Regions from separate parts of the Homo sapiens genome. Here region 1 is linked to region 2. The links are contacts of gene promoters, found by promoter capture Hi-C in human tissues and cell types (Jung and others, 2019). All regions are on one chromosome and are shown on one strand. The core of a region is centred on a gene start or on the middle of the fragment in contact, and the rest is flanking DNA. Distances in the headings are between cores, read along the strand shown.

Evidence for each region. Contacts are between HindIII fragments. The study calls those that stand out against the background at their distance.
Region 1: a contact is called between a fragment that was not itself captured here and the fragment with the promoter of HAVCR1 in region 2, in 3 of the 25 tissues and cell types used here (adrenal gland, aorta and stomach).

Annotation. Positions count from the first base shown.
Region 1 is chr5:156,981,276-156,987,950 of GRCh38, forward strand. No RefSeq gene overlaps it. Among named protein-coding and RNA genes, the nearest start is that of TIMD4, 21 kb to the left of the region's middle. The HindIII fragment of the contact is 5,224 bases long and covers 1,813-6,675 here.
Region 2 is chr5:157,056,777-157,062,929 of GRCh38, forward strand. It overlaps HAVCR1 (hepatitis A virus cellular receptor 1), which reads right to left and starts at 2,340. Exons shown (of 9, transcript NM_001173393.3): 1 at 2,145-2,340; 2 at 1,122-1,179. The coding sequence starts at 1,167. The HindIII fragment of the contact is 13,602 bases long and covers 1-6,153 here.

The sequences.
Region 1 (6,675 bases), core at 3,175-5,674, 73 kb before region 2:
CAGCCTTCCAAGCAGCTGGGACTACAGACATATAACACCAGGCCTGGCTAATTTTTTAATTTTTTTATAGAGACAAGGTCTCACTATGTTGCCCACGCTGGTCTTGAACTCCTGGGCTCAAGTGATCTGTGCACCTCAGCCTCCCAAAGTGCTGAGATTATAGGCATGAGCCACCACACCTGGCCAAGAACAGTTATTCTTTAAGGGAACTTGAGGGGAATAAGTTTAGTCTACATAAGTGCACAGATACAATTCAGGAATGGATATTTTTGGACAGGAATTATTTTTACCATTGTCATTTTGGCTAGTTACTGAACTGGCTCTTTCCCTGTCATCAGCTTATCAGCTATATCACCCCCCAACCCCCCACTCTAATACTGAAGCTCTTTTCAACTGGGCCCATGCAATTTAAGTGTTTCCTAGTTTGAAAAGAAAAGAGGAAGAGGGAGAAATGAAACTTCTGGAGTTGTATTGCTAAAGGAAGCTTGTCCTTTCAGACACTTTTCTACCAAATTTTTACTCAAACTTCCTCTTTTGTGGGCTAAGAGAGTTTTTTTCATATTCAGATAAAAAATATATTAGAGAAAACATGCAAAATCCACCACCTGAGTGTCTTGCATAACAGATGTATTTCTTCACTTACATGAAGTTCATTTCTCCATCTATGCACCAGGTCCAATTTCTTCCCCAACATCTCTAGGGTACCTGGGAAAGAAACCAATGTTATACTTTTAAAGAACAGCAGATCTTAAAATCAAATGATCATCTCAAAATGCAAAAGTATGGTTTAGAAGTAGGTGGAGGTACAGTAAATTTCTTAAAAATGAATGCAAGACTAGTGTTAATATCATAAAATTGCAAATAATCTAAGTCTCATGTGCCATCAACATGCATCAAATAAAGATTCTGAGTAATCAAATAAAGATTCAGCAACCATTTATAAGAATATTGTATCACTGATCATTAGAGAAATGCAAATCAAAACCACAATGAGTACCATCTCACACCAGTCAGAATGGCTAATACTAAAACGTCAAAAAGTAACAAGTGCTGATGAGGTTGCAGAGAAAAAGGAACACTTATACACTGTTGGTGGGAGTGTAAATTAGTTTCCGCTATTGTGGAAAACTGTGTGACTATTTTTTGAAGACCTAAAAACAGAACCATCATTCAACTCAGCAATCCCATTACTGGGTATATACCCAAAGAAACATAAATTGCTGTATCATAAAGATATATACACACATATGTTCATTGCAACACTGTTCATAATAACAAAGACATGGAATCAACCTAAATGCCCATCAATGACAGATTGGATAAAGAAAATGTGGGCTGGGCACGGTGGCTCATGCCTGTAATCCCAGCACTTTGGGAGGCTGAGGCAGGTCAATCACCTGAGGTCAGGAATTCGAGACCAGCTTGGGCGACATGGTGAAACCCCATCTCTACTAAGAAACTACAAAATTAGTAGTGCATGCCTGTAATCCCAGCTACTCGGGAGGCTGAGGCAGGAGAATAGCTTGAACCTGGGAGGCGGAGGTTGCAGTGAGCCAAGATTGTGCCACTGCACTCCAGCCTGGGTGACAGAGCAAGACTCTGTCTCAAAAAAAAAAAAAAAAAAAGAAAAGAAAAGAAAGAAAAAGAAAAGAAAAACAAAAATGTGGTACATACAAACCATGGAATACTATGCAGCTATTAAAAAAAAGAATGAGATCATGTCCTTGGCAGGAGCACAGATGGAGCTGGAGGCTATCATCCTTAGCAAACTAACGCAGGAACAGAAACCCAAATAACTCATGTTCTCACTTGTAGGTCGAAGCTAAATGATGAGAATGCCTCGTGGACACGTAAAGGAGAAAATAAACACTGGGGCTTATCAGAGGGTGGAGGGTGGGAAGAGGGAGGGGATCAGGAAAAATAACTAATGGGTACTAGGCTTAATACTTGGGTGACAAAATAATCTGTATAACAAACCCTCATAACACAAGTTTACCTATGCAGTAAACCTGCACATGTACTCCTAACCTTAAAATAAAAGTTAAAAAAAGTAATAAAGAATGTTGTAGGTGCATATTTATTGATGTGAAAAGATCCCCAGGATAGAAGTGAGGAAAATGATCTTCATCTTGAGTGTGACAATTAAAATACAAAAGATCAACAACCTTAACCCACTCTTGTAAGAAGGAGCACATACATACACAGACAAAAGCCTGAAAGGTTATATTTTTAAAATTGTTTAACAATGTGTCTCTTCTGGGCAAAGGAAACAGGTGATTTTTTTATCCTTTTTCTTTTATATATATACATCTTCTAATTTTGTATAACAATTTTATTTTTGAGACAGGCTGTCATTCTGTCACCCAGGATCGAGTGCAGTGGCATGAATATGGCTCACCGCAACCTCCACTTCCCAGGTTCAAGTGATCCTCCCACCTCAGCCTCCCAAGTAGCTGTGATTACAGGTGCACACCACCATACCAGACTAATTTTTTGCATTTTTGGTAGAGACAGAGTTGTGTCATGTTAGTCAGGCTAGTCTCAAACTCCTGAGCTCAGGTGATCCACATGCCTCAGCCACCCAAAGTGCTGGGATTACAGGTGTGAGCCACTGCACCTGGCCCTGTATCTTGAGTGTGTTGGTAGTTATACAATTGTATATATTTGCCAATCTGAGGTATACCCGAAATGGGTGAGTTCTACTGTATGTAAATCATACCCCAATATAGCTGTTTTTACGAAGCATGCAACAAAACTTAAGAAAAAAACACTATCAAAGTATGTGGAAATATAAAATGTAAAGCTCTATAGAAATATAAAGAATTTTTCTTTAGTGCTTTTCTTTGAAAACAAAACAAAGAAGTGGCTGGCAACATGGCCAAATAGGAAGAGCTCCGGTCTGCAGCCCCCAGCGAGTTCACCGCAAAAGGTGGGTGATTTCTGCATTTCCAGCTGAGGTAGCCAGCTCATCTCATAGGGACTGGTTAGACAGCGGGTGCAGCTCACGGTGGGCGAGCCAAGCAGGGTGGGGTGTCGCCTCACCCAGGAAGTGCAAGGGGTTGGGGAACTCCCTCCCCTAGCCAAGGAAAGCCTTGAGGGACTGTGCCATGAGGAACGGTGCATTCCGGTCCAGATACTAAGCTTTTCCCATGGTCTTCACAACCAGCAGACTAGGAGATTCCCTTGGGTGCCTATGCCATCAGGACCTTTATTTAAAGCACAAAACTGGGCGGCCATTTGGACGAACACCAAGCTAGCTACAGGAGTTTTTTTTCATACCCTAGTGGCACCTGGAACACCAGTGAGATAGAACTGTTCACAACCCCCTGGGAAGGGGGCTGAAGCCAGGGAGCCAAGTGGTCTAACTCAGCGGATCCCACCCCCATGGAGCCCAGCAAGCTGAGATCCACTGGCTTGAAATTCTTGCTGCCAGCACAGCAGTCTGAAGTTGATCTGGGATGCTCCACTCCAGCTTGGTGGCAGGAGGGGAGTCCACCATTACTGAGGCTTGAGTAGGTGGTTTTCACCTCACAGTGTAAACAAAGCTGCAGGGAAGTTTGAACTGGATGGAACCCACCACAGCACTGCAAAACCACTGTAGCCAGACTGCCTCTCTGGATTCCTCCTCTCTGGGTAGGGCATCTCTGAAAGAAAGGCAGCAGCCCCAGTCAGGGCTTATAGATAAAACTCCCATCTCCCTGGGACAGAGCACCTGGGGGAAGGGGCAGCTGTGGGCGCAGCTTCAGCAGACTTAAACATTCCTACCTGCCGGCTCTGAAGAGAGCAGGGGATCTCCCAGAACAACACTTGAGCTCTCCTAAGAGACACACTGCCTCCTCAAGTGGGTCCCTGACTCCCGTGCCTCCTCACTGGGAGACACCTTCCAGCAGGGGTCAAGAGAAATCTCATACAGGAGACCTCCAGCTGGCATCTGGCGGGTGCCCCTATGGGATGAAGCTTCCAGAGGAAGGAACAAGCAGCAATCTTTGCTGTTCTGCAGCCTCTGCTGGTGATACCCAGGCAAACAGGGTCTGGAGTGGACCTCCAGCAAACTCCAGCAGACCTGCAGCAGAGAGGCCTGACTGTCAAAAGGAAAACAAACAAACAGAAAGGAATAGGATCAACATCAACAAAAAGGACATCCACACAGAAACCCCAACCAAAGGTCACCAACATTAAAGAGCAAAGGTAGATAAATCCGTGAAGATGAAGAAAAACCAGAGCAAAAAGGCTGAAAATTCCCAAAACCAGAATGGCTCTTCTCCAAAGGATCACAACTCCTCTCCAGCAAGGGAACAAAACTGGACGGTGAATGAATTTGATGAATTGACAGAGGAGGTTTCAGAAGATAGGTAATAACAAACTCCTCTGAGCTAAAAGAGCAGGTTCTAACCCAATGCAAGGAAGCTAAGAACCTGAGAAAAGGTTAGACAAATTGCTAACTAGAATAATCATTTTAGAGAAGAACATAAATAACCTGATGGAGCTGAAAAACACAGCACGAGAACTTGTGTATGCTTTGTGAAGCATACACAAATATCAATAGCAGAATTGATCAAGTGGAAGAAAGGATATCAGAGATTTTAAATCAACTTAATGAAGTAAAGCATGAAGACAAGATTAGAGAAAAAAGAATGAAAAGGACCAAACAAAGCCTCCAAGAAATATTGGACTGTGTGAAAAGACCAAACCTACATTTGATTGGTATACCTGAAAGTGATGGGGAGAATGGAACCAAGTTGGAAAACACTCTTCAGGATATTATCCAGGAGAACTTCCCCAACAGAGCAAGGCAGGCCAACATTCAAATTCAGGAAATACAGAAAACACCACAAAGATACTCCTTGAGAAGAGCAACCCCAAGACACATAATTGTCAGATTCACCAAGGTTGAAATGAAGGAAAAAATGTTAAGGGCAGCCAGAGAGAAAGGTCGGGTTACGCACAAAGGGAAGCCCATCAGACTAACAGCAGATCTCTTTGCAGGAACCCTACAAGCCAGAAGAGTGGGCCAATATTCAATATTCTTAAAGAAAATAATGTTCAACCCAGAATTTCATATCCAGCCAAACTAAGCTTTATAAGTGAAGGAGAAATAAAATCCTTTACACACAAGTAAATGCTGAGAGATTTTGTCACCACCAGGCCTGCCTTACAAGAGCTCCTGAAGGAAGCACTAAACATGGAAAGGAACAACCACTGCAAAAACATACCAAATTGTAAAGACCATCGACACCATGAAGAAACTGCATCATCTATTGGGCAAAATAACCAGCTAGCATCATAATGACAGCATCAAATTCACACATAGCAATATTAACCTCAAATGTAAATGGGCTAAATGCCCCAGTTAAAAGACACAGACTGGCAAATTGGACAAAGAATCAAGACCCATCAGTGTGCTGTATTCAGGAGACCCATCTCACATGCAGAGACACACATAGGCTCAAAATAAAGGGATGGAGGAAGATCTACCAAGCAATGGAAAGCAAAAAAAAGCAGGGGTTGCAATCCTACTCTCTGAAAAAACAGACTTTAAACCAACAAATATCAAAAGAGACAAAAAAGGCCATTACATAATGGTAAAGGGATCAAGCCAACAAGAAGAGCTAACTATCCTAAATATATATGCACCCAATACAGGAGCACCCAGATTCATAAAGCAAGTTCTTAGAAGCCTACAAAGAGACTTAGACTCCCACACAATAATAGTGGGAGATTTTAACATGCCACTGTCAATATTATACAGATCAATGAGACAGAAAATTTACAAGGATATTTAGGACTTGAACTCAGTTCTGGACTAAGCAGACCTAATAGACATCTACAGAACTCTTCACCCCCAAATCAACAATCTTCTCAGCACCACATCGCACTTATTCTAAAATTGACTGCATAATTGGAAGTAAAAGCAAAAGAATGAAAATCATAACAAACAGTCTCTCAGACCACAGTGCAATCAAATTAGAATTCAGGATTAAGAAACTCACTCAAAACCACACAACTACATGGAGACTGAACAACCTGCTCCTGGATGACTCCTGAATGAAAATGAAACTAAGGCAGAAATAAATAAGTTATTTGAAATGAATGAGAGGAAAGACAAAACATATCAGCATATCTGGGACACAGCTAAGGCAGTGTTTAGAGGGAAATGTATAGCACTAAATGCCCACAGGAGAAAGCGGGAAAGATCTAAACTCGACCCCTAACATCACAATTAAAACAACTAGAGAAGCAAGAGCAAACACATTCAAAAGCTAGCAGAAGACAAGAAATAACTAGGATCAGAACAGAACTGAGGGAGATAGAGACACAAAAAACCCTTCAAAAACACAATGAATCCAGGAGCTGGTTTTTTGAAAAGATTAACAAAATAGATAGACTGCTAGCCAGACCAATAAAGAAGAAAAGAGAGAAGAATTGAATAGACACAATAAAAAATGATAAAGGGGATATCATCACTGATCCCACAGAAATACAAACTACCATCAGAGAATACTATAAACACCTCTATGCAAATAAACTAGAAAATCTAGTAGAAATGGATAAATTCCTGGACACATACACCCTCCCAAGACTAAACCAGGAAGAGGTCGAATCCCTGAATAGACCAATAAGAAGTTCTGAAATTGAGGCAGTAATTAATAGCCTACCAACCAAAAAAAGCCCAGG
Region 2 (6,153 bases), core at 1,090-3,589:
AATGAGAGATTATTTTTCCCCCATAATCCCAAAGGCATATATCACTCCAGAAATTTGTGTTTAAAAATTAGGATATGTCTATTTTACTCTTTCCTTATCTCATAGAATGTTTTGAATTAAAGTGTTTATTTCAAAATAAAATACTTAGGCCAGATGTGGTGGCTAACGCCTATAATCCCAGCACTTTGGGAGACTGAGGTGGGAGAATCACTTGAGCCCAGGAGGTCGAGGTTGCAGTGAATCAAGATTGCCCAACTAGGCCAGGCGCGGTGACTCACGCCTATAATTCCAGCACTTTGGGAGGCCGAGGCAGGTGGATCACAAGGTCAGGAGTTCAAGATCAGCTTGGCCAAGATGGGGAAACCTTGTCTCTACTAAAAATACAAAAAAATTAGCTGGTAGTGGTGGCAGGTACCTGTAATCCCAGCTACTTGGGAGACTGAGGCAGAGAATTGCTTGAACCCAGGAGGCGGAGGCTGCAGTGAGCCGAGATCACGCCACTGAACTCTAGCCTGGGCGACAGAGTGAGACTCTGTCTCAAAAAAAAAAAGATTGCCCTACTGCACTCCAGAGTGAGACCTCATGAAGAGAGAGAGAGAGAGAGAGAGAGGAAAGAAAGAAAGAAAGAAAGAAAGAAAGAAAGAAAGAAAGAAAGAAAGAAAGAAAGAAAGAAAGAAAGAAAGAAAGAGAATTGAATGTGGCTGAAAAAAATCGGAAGGCACAAAAAAATACAATAAGGATTAACTCTCCCTCCACCTCCCACCCTCTGCCCCCATCCCACATTACCCACTGTCACTATTTCCTATATACATGTGTCTATGCATATACATCTAACCACACCCTTTTTGTTTAAACACAAAGGGCAGCCTGTGACACACTGTGCTGCATCTTGCCTTGTTCATTTAGCCATGAATGTTGTAATTCACAGCAGTTAAGCAATTTCTTTGGCCTAAAACTTTATTCTGGTCCTGCTCACTAGTTAACTCATAGCCATACAACGGTACCCAAAGAACATCTACATTAATCCACCACCACCATCCCCTCCCCTTCCCCTACCCCATTCTCTGGCTTCTAACCCCCCTCTACTCCCTTCTTCCCGCCCAGGGCACCTACTCACTTACCTGCCAGATGTAGGATGAGGCTTAAGATGACCACTTGAGGATGCATTATGGGATCAGCCTGAAGGAAAATGAGCAGACAGGCTGGTTGGTACCCTCCACCAGATGGTATCTGATCAAGTCTTAAATCTCAGATTGCAACTTATCTTTTCACCCAGTTGGTTGATTCATATGAGCCTGCTCTGCTGGAAATGAGAGAAGACCACATATAACGGCTTCAGAGCTCTGTTAGTTCCCTGCAGCTGAGAGCTCTGTGCCTTCCAAAGGACAGGGAAAGCTGTCCACAGAAACAGCCCCTGACTTCCCAGCTTCTTCCCCACACATAACCGCCAAACTGACTCCTGGTCCTGATACAGGGTATCAGGGGAACAAACAAAAAGGAAACAGGGCCGGGCGCGGTGGCTCAAACCTGTAATCCTAGCACTTTGGGAGGCCAAGGCGGGCAGATCACGAAGTCAGGAGATCGAGACCATCCTGGCTAAAAGGGTGAAACCCCGTCTCTACTAAAAATACAAAAAATTAGCCGGGCGTGGTCACTGGCGCCTGTAGTCCCAGCTACTCGGGAGGCTGAGGCAGGAGAATGGCGTGAACCCGCGGGAGGCGGAGCTTGCGGTGAGCCGAGATCGCGCCACTGCACTCCAGCCTGGGCGACAGAGCAAGACTCCGTCTCAAAAAACAAAACAAAAAAAAAGAAAAGAAAAGGAAACTGGAAGCAGAGAACCAGCGTGGCTCAATGGCAGCACGAGAGCAAATGCCAGCCTTCCAGTGGCAGAGATGCACTTGCTTTTCAGAGTAAACTGGGCCTCTGGTGGACGTGGAGCTTTTCCTACTCAGTGGCCACAACGACTTATCCCTAGCCTTAACAGTCATATTGCCAAGTTTGCCATTAGCAAGAGAAATTGAGAGTGAATGTGAATCACTGTGCCTAACCTTTCATGCTCCTGTACAACATGCTTCAGACTACACCTCCTTACCAAGGGACTTCAAGAGAATGCTTCAGGAAACAGAAGTCTGGAGCAGACTTACGTTCAGATCCAGGCTCTGTCACTCACAATGCTGGGTAACCCTGAGAGTTCCTGAGTTCTCTTCAAACCTCTATTTCCTCAGTTGTAAAATAGCACTAAAAATGCTTCCTCTATCTCCCACCAAGGATTGATATAATAAGCAAAAAGGGCCACGGAAGAACTTGGAAAACTAAACCTACATCATATGCAGTAATAGCACTAGCTGAGGTTTTTGGAGAATACTATATAGCAGGCTCTGTGTCAAGCACCCACATGCGTTAAATCGGGCTGTTGACTTCTGCTGTTAATCATTAAACCATACAAACATGAGTAAGCTTGCCTAGTACTTCATTAACTCCTCTTCTGGTCTAAGAATTCAGTAACTTCCAAGGAGGCAGTGGTGGTCTGTATCTTGCAGCTCATGACAGGGTTCATGGGGAAGTGGATGATCTCAGCATAGTGTTTTGTATGGCAGCGTTTAAAAATTCATTTCTTGACCGGGCATGGTGGCTCGTGCCTGTAACCCCAGCACTTTGGGAGGCCGAGTAGGCCAGTCACCTGAGGTCGGGAGTTCAAGACCAGCCTGGCTAACACGGTGAAACCCCGACTCTACTAAAAATACAAAAATTAGCTGGGGGTGGTGGCGGGCGCCTGTAATCCCAGCTACTTAGGAGGCTGAGGTAGAAGAATTGCTTGAACCTGGAAGGTGGAGGTTGCAGTGAGCCGAGATCAAGCCATTGCACTCTAGCCTGGACAACAAGAACAAAACTCCATCTCAAAAATAAAAATAAAAATTCATTTCTTGCCAGGCACAGTGGCTCACGCCTGTAATCCCAACACTTTGGGAGGCCAAGGCAAGTGGATCACCTGAGGTAAGGAGTTTGAGACCAACCTGGGCAACATAGCAAGACTCCCTCTCTGCAAAAAAAACGAACAAAAAATATAGTCAGGCCTTGTGTACCTGACCGTAGTCCCAGCTACTCAGGAGGCTGAGGCAGGAGGGTTGCTTGAGCCCAGCAGTTGGAGGCTATGATTGTGCCACTGCACACCAGCCGGGGTGACAGAGCAAGACCCTGTTTCTTAAGGAAAAAAAGATTGAAAAAAAAAAGCTAATTCAATTCAACCAGTTATTACTAACATATTGAGCTGATGGGACATGACTCAATATACTAGGGACGTCAAAAATCCAGACTTGTGCAATCGGGCAGGGACATGGGTAAGTAAGCAACTAATGAAATCAGGATAAGTGAGGTAAAGGTAAATATATAATCAGACTACATCATTCCCCCACTTATAACCCTCTCATAACTCTCTCAGAAAAATAATAATAATAATAATAATAATAATTCCTAAATCTTTACTCAAATTACTGAAGCCCTGGTGGTCTGGCCCTGACCTACCCCATAGATTTCTTCTACCACTCTCTCCCCTGCTGACTCAGCCCCAGCTACTAGAGCTTTCTTTCCAACTTGCCTCAACCCTAAGGCCTTTTCCGTGGCTGTGTTCTCCATCTAGCTCCCCAGCCCCACCATTTTCACTTTTTTCCTTTTCATTTTTATCCCGGCTTAAATATGACCTCCCTGGACATTTTTCACAGGTCCTTCAATCTAAAGTAGCCAACCAGTCCCTCTCACTATTATTATCTTGTTTTCCTTAATCCATTTTATCTGTGTGTGCAATATATGTGGTGTCTGTCTCTATTCCCTCCTATAGAGTGCTGCCCGGTAGAATTTTAGTAATGGAGTTATTCTGGTAACGGAGTTATTCTGGAACTGATGAGCCACAGAGAGCCAAGACAGGGATGTGGAGCCAGTGCTCTGAGATGTTACATAACTGTACAATTCCATAGGATTTGAATTTGAATTCCATAGGATCGATTCTGTCTCCAGTAGAATATTGGTTACAGAGTTATTCTGTGTGAGTGTCGTGCACTACAGCAGCCACTAGCCACATATGACTATTGAGCACTTGAAATGTGGCTAAGGCAACCAAGGCATTTTTAATTTTTTTTTTTTCCAAGACAGAGCCTGACTCTGTCACCCAGGCTGGAGTGCAGTGTCACAATCTCAGCTCAGTGCAACCTCCATCTCCTGGGTTTAAGTGATTCTCTTGCCACAGTCTCCTGAGTAGCTGGGACTACAGACACGCGCCACCATGCCTGGCTAATTTTTGTATTTTTAGCAGAGGTGGAGTTTCACCATGTTGGCCAGGCTGGGCTGGAACTCCTGGCCTCAAGTGATACGCTCATCTCAACTTCCAAAAGTGCTGGAATTACAGGTGTGAGCCGCCATGCCTGGCCTAAAAATTTTTATTTAATTTCATTTTAATTAAAATTTCAGATTGCTTGAGCCCAGGAGACAGTCTTCGGGGAGTTGAGATGGCACCACTGCACTCAAGCCTTAGATGACAGAGCTTTCAAAAAAATAAATTAATTAAAAACAAAAAAATAAAATTTAAATTGTCACACATAGTGACTGTGTTGTGTGGCACCCAACTCCAGACCATAAACTCCTTTAAGGCAATTTAAGTGTTGAAGCCAGGCATGGTTGCTCACACCTGTAATCCAAAGGAGGCCGAGGTGGGAGGATCACTTGAGGTCAGGGGTTCCAAACCAGCCTGGCCAACATGGTGAAACCCAACTCTACCAAAAATGCAAAAATTAGCCAGGCGTGGTGGCGGGTGCCTGTAATCCCAGCTACTCAGGAGGCTGAGGCAAGAGAATCGCCTGAACCCGGGAGGCAGAATTTACCCTGAGCGGAGATCATGCCACTGCACTCTGGCCTGGGCCACAGAGTGAGACTTCTCAAAAAAAAAAAAGTTATTAATTGAATAGATAAACAAATGGAAACACAAACCCATAGGGAAAGACCATTCATTTTGATGACGGAATGTGGGGGGTGGGAAGAATTTCTTAAAAAGTGACATGTGAGAAGAATGGGTGGAGGGTGTTTCAACTGGAGGAAATGATGAGCCAGAGAGAGCCAGGACAGGGATGTGGAGCCAAGGCTCTGAGATGTTACATAACTGTACAATTCCATAGGGTTGAATTTTCTGACACAGGACCATCTCCCATGAGAGACGCCTGTGTTCTAAAGACTCCCAAACAATATAGCACAGTGGATTTTTTTAATGAGCTATACAACCTCCAGGGATCACTACTCTTTAGGGCAAACTTCATGACCCCCCTGAAGGATGCATCCCAGTTGTAGGGTAAAGCTGGAAGTGACAATACTTGGGCACCAAAGCTGAATTTCCAGCTGCTCACTAGGGAGCTGCATCTGTATAAACCAAGATTAACGGCAGTGAATTGAAATGATTCAGAACATGGGCCGGGCACGGTGGTGGGTGCCTGTAATCCCAGCTACTTGGGAGGCTGAGGCAGGAGAATTGCTCGAACCCGGGAGGTGGAGGTTGCAGTGAGCTGAGATCGTGCCACTGCACTCCAGCCTGGACAACAGATTGACACCCTGTCTCAAAAAAAAGAAAGAATTCAGAAAAGAAAATAATTCACTGTTCTTTCTTGCAATCACCACTTACTTCCCTGCTATCTCAGCGCACATCGTACCTCCAGCTCCAGCCTCCTGCAAAACAGTTCAGCTGTTCATATTCCCCATGCTTTCACCACAGCAAGATCTTCTTAGGCCCCCTCCACAACTAGGGACTCACCAACTCCACATCATTGTACCTGTCAGTCTCTCCCTCATCCCCATCACTTTATATTAGGCCTCTATAATCCAGACTTCTGCAATTCCCTCCAAAACTGTCTTCCTACCTTTCAGTTCTCTTCCTGCCCTGCCCACTGCCCTAAGCTAGTTATTTTCCTTCACTTACTCCTCTGATTTCATAACAAGTAATATAATGCTTCTTTTTTTTATATCTTTTACAAAGATATAAAAATTACAGGGTACCACCTATGTTTACCATAGAAAATACATAAAAGCCCAAGTATGGTGGCTCACACCTGTAATCCCAGCACTTTGGGAGGCCAAGGCAGGAGGATCACTTGAGGTTAGGAGTTCAAGACCAGCCTG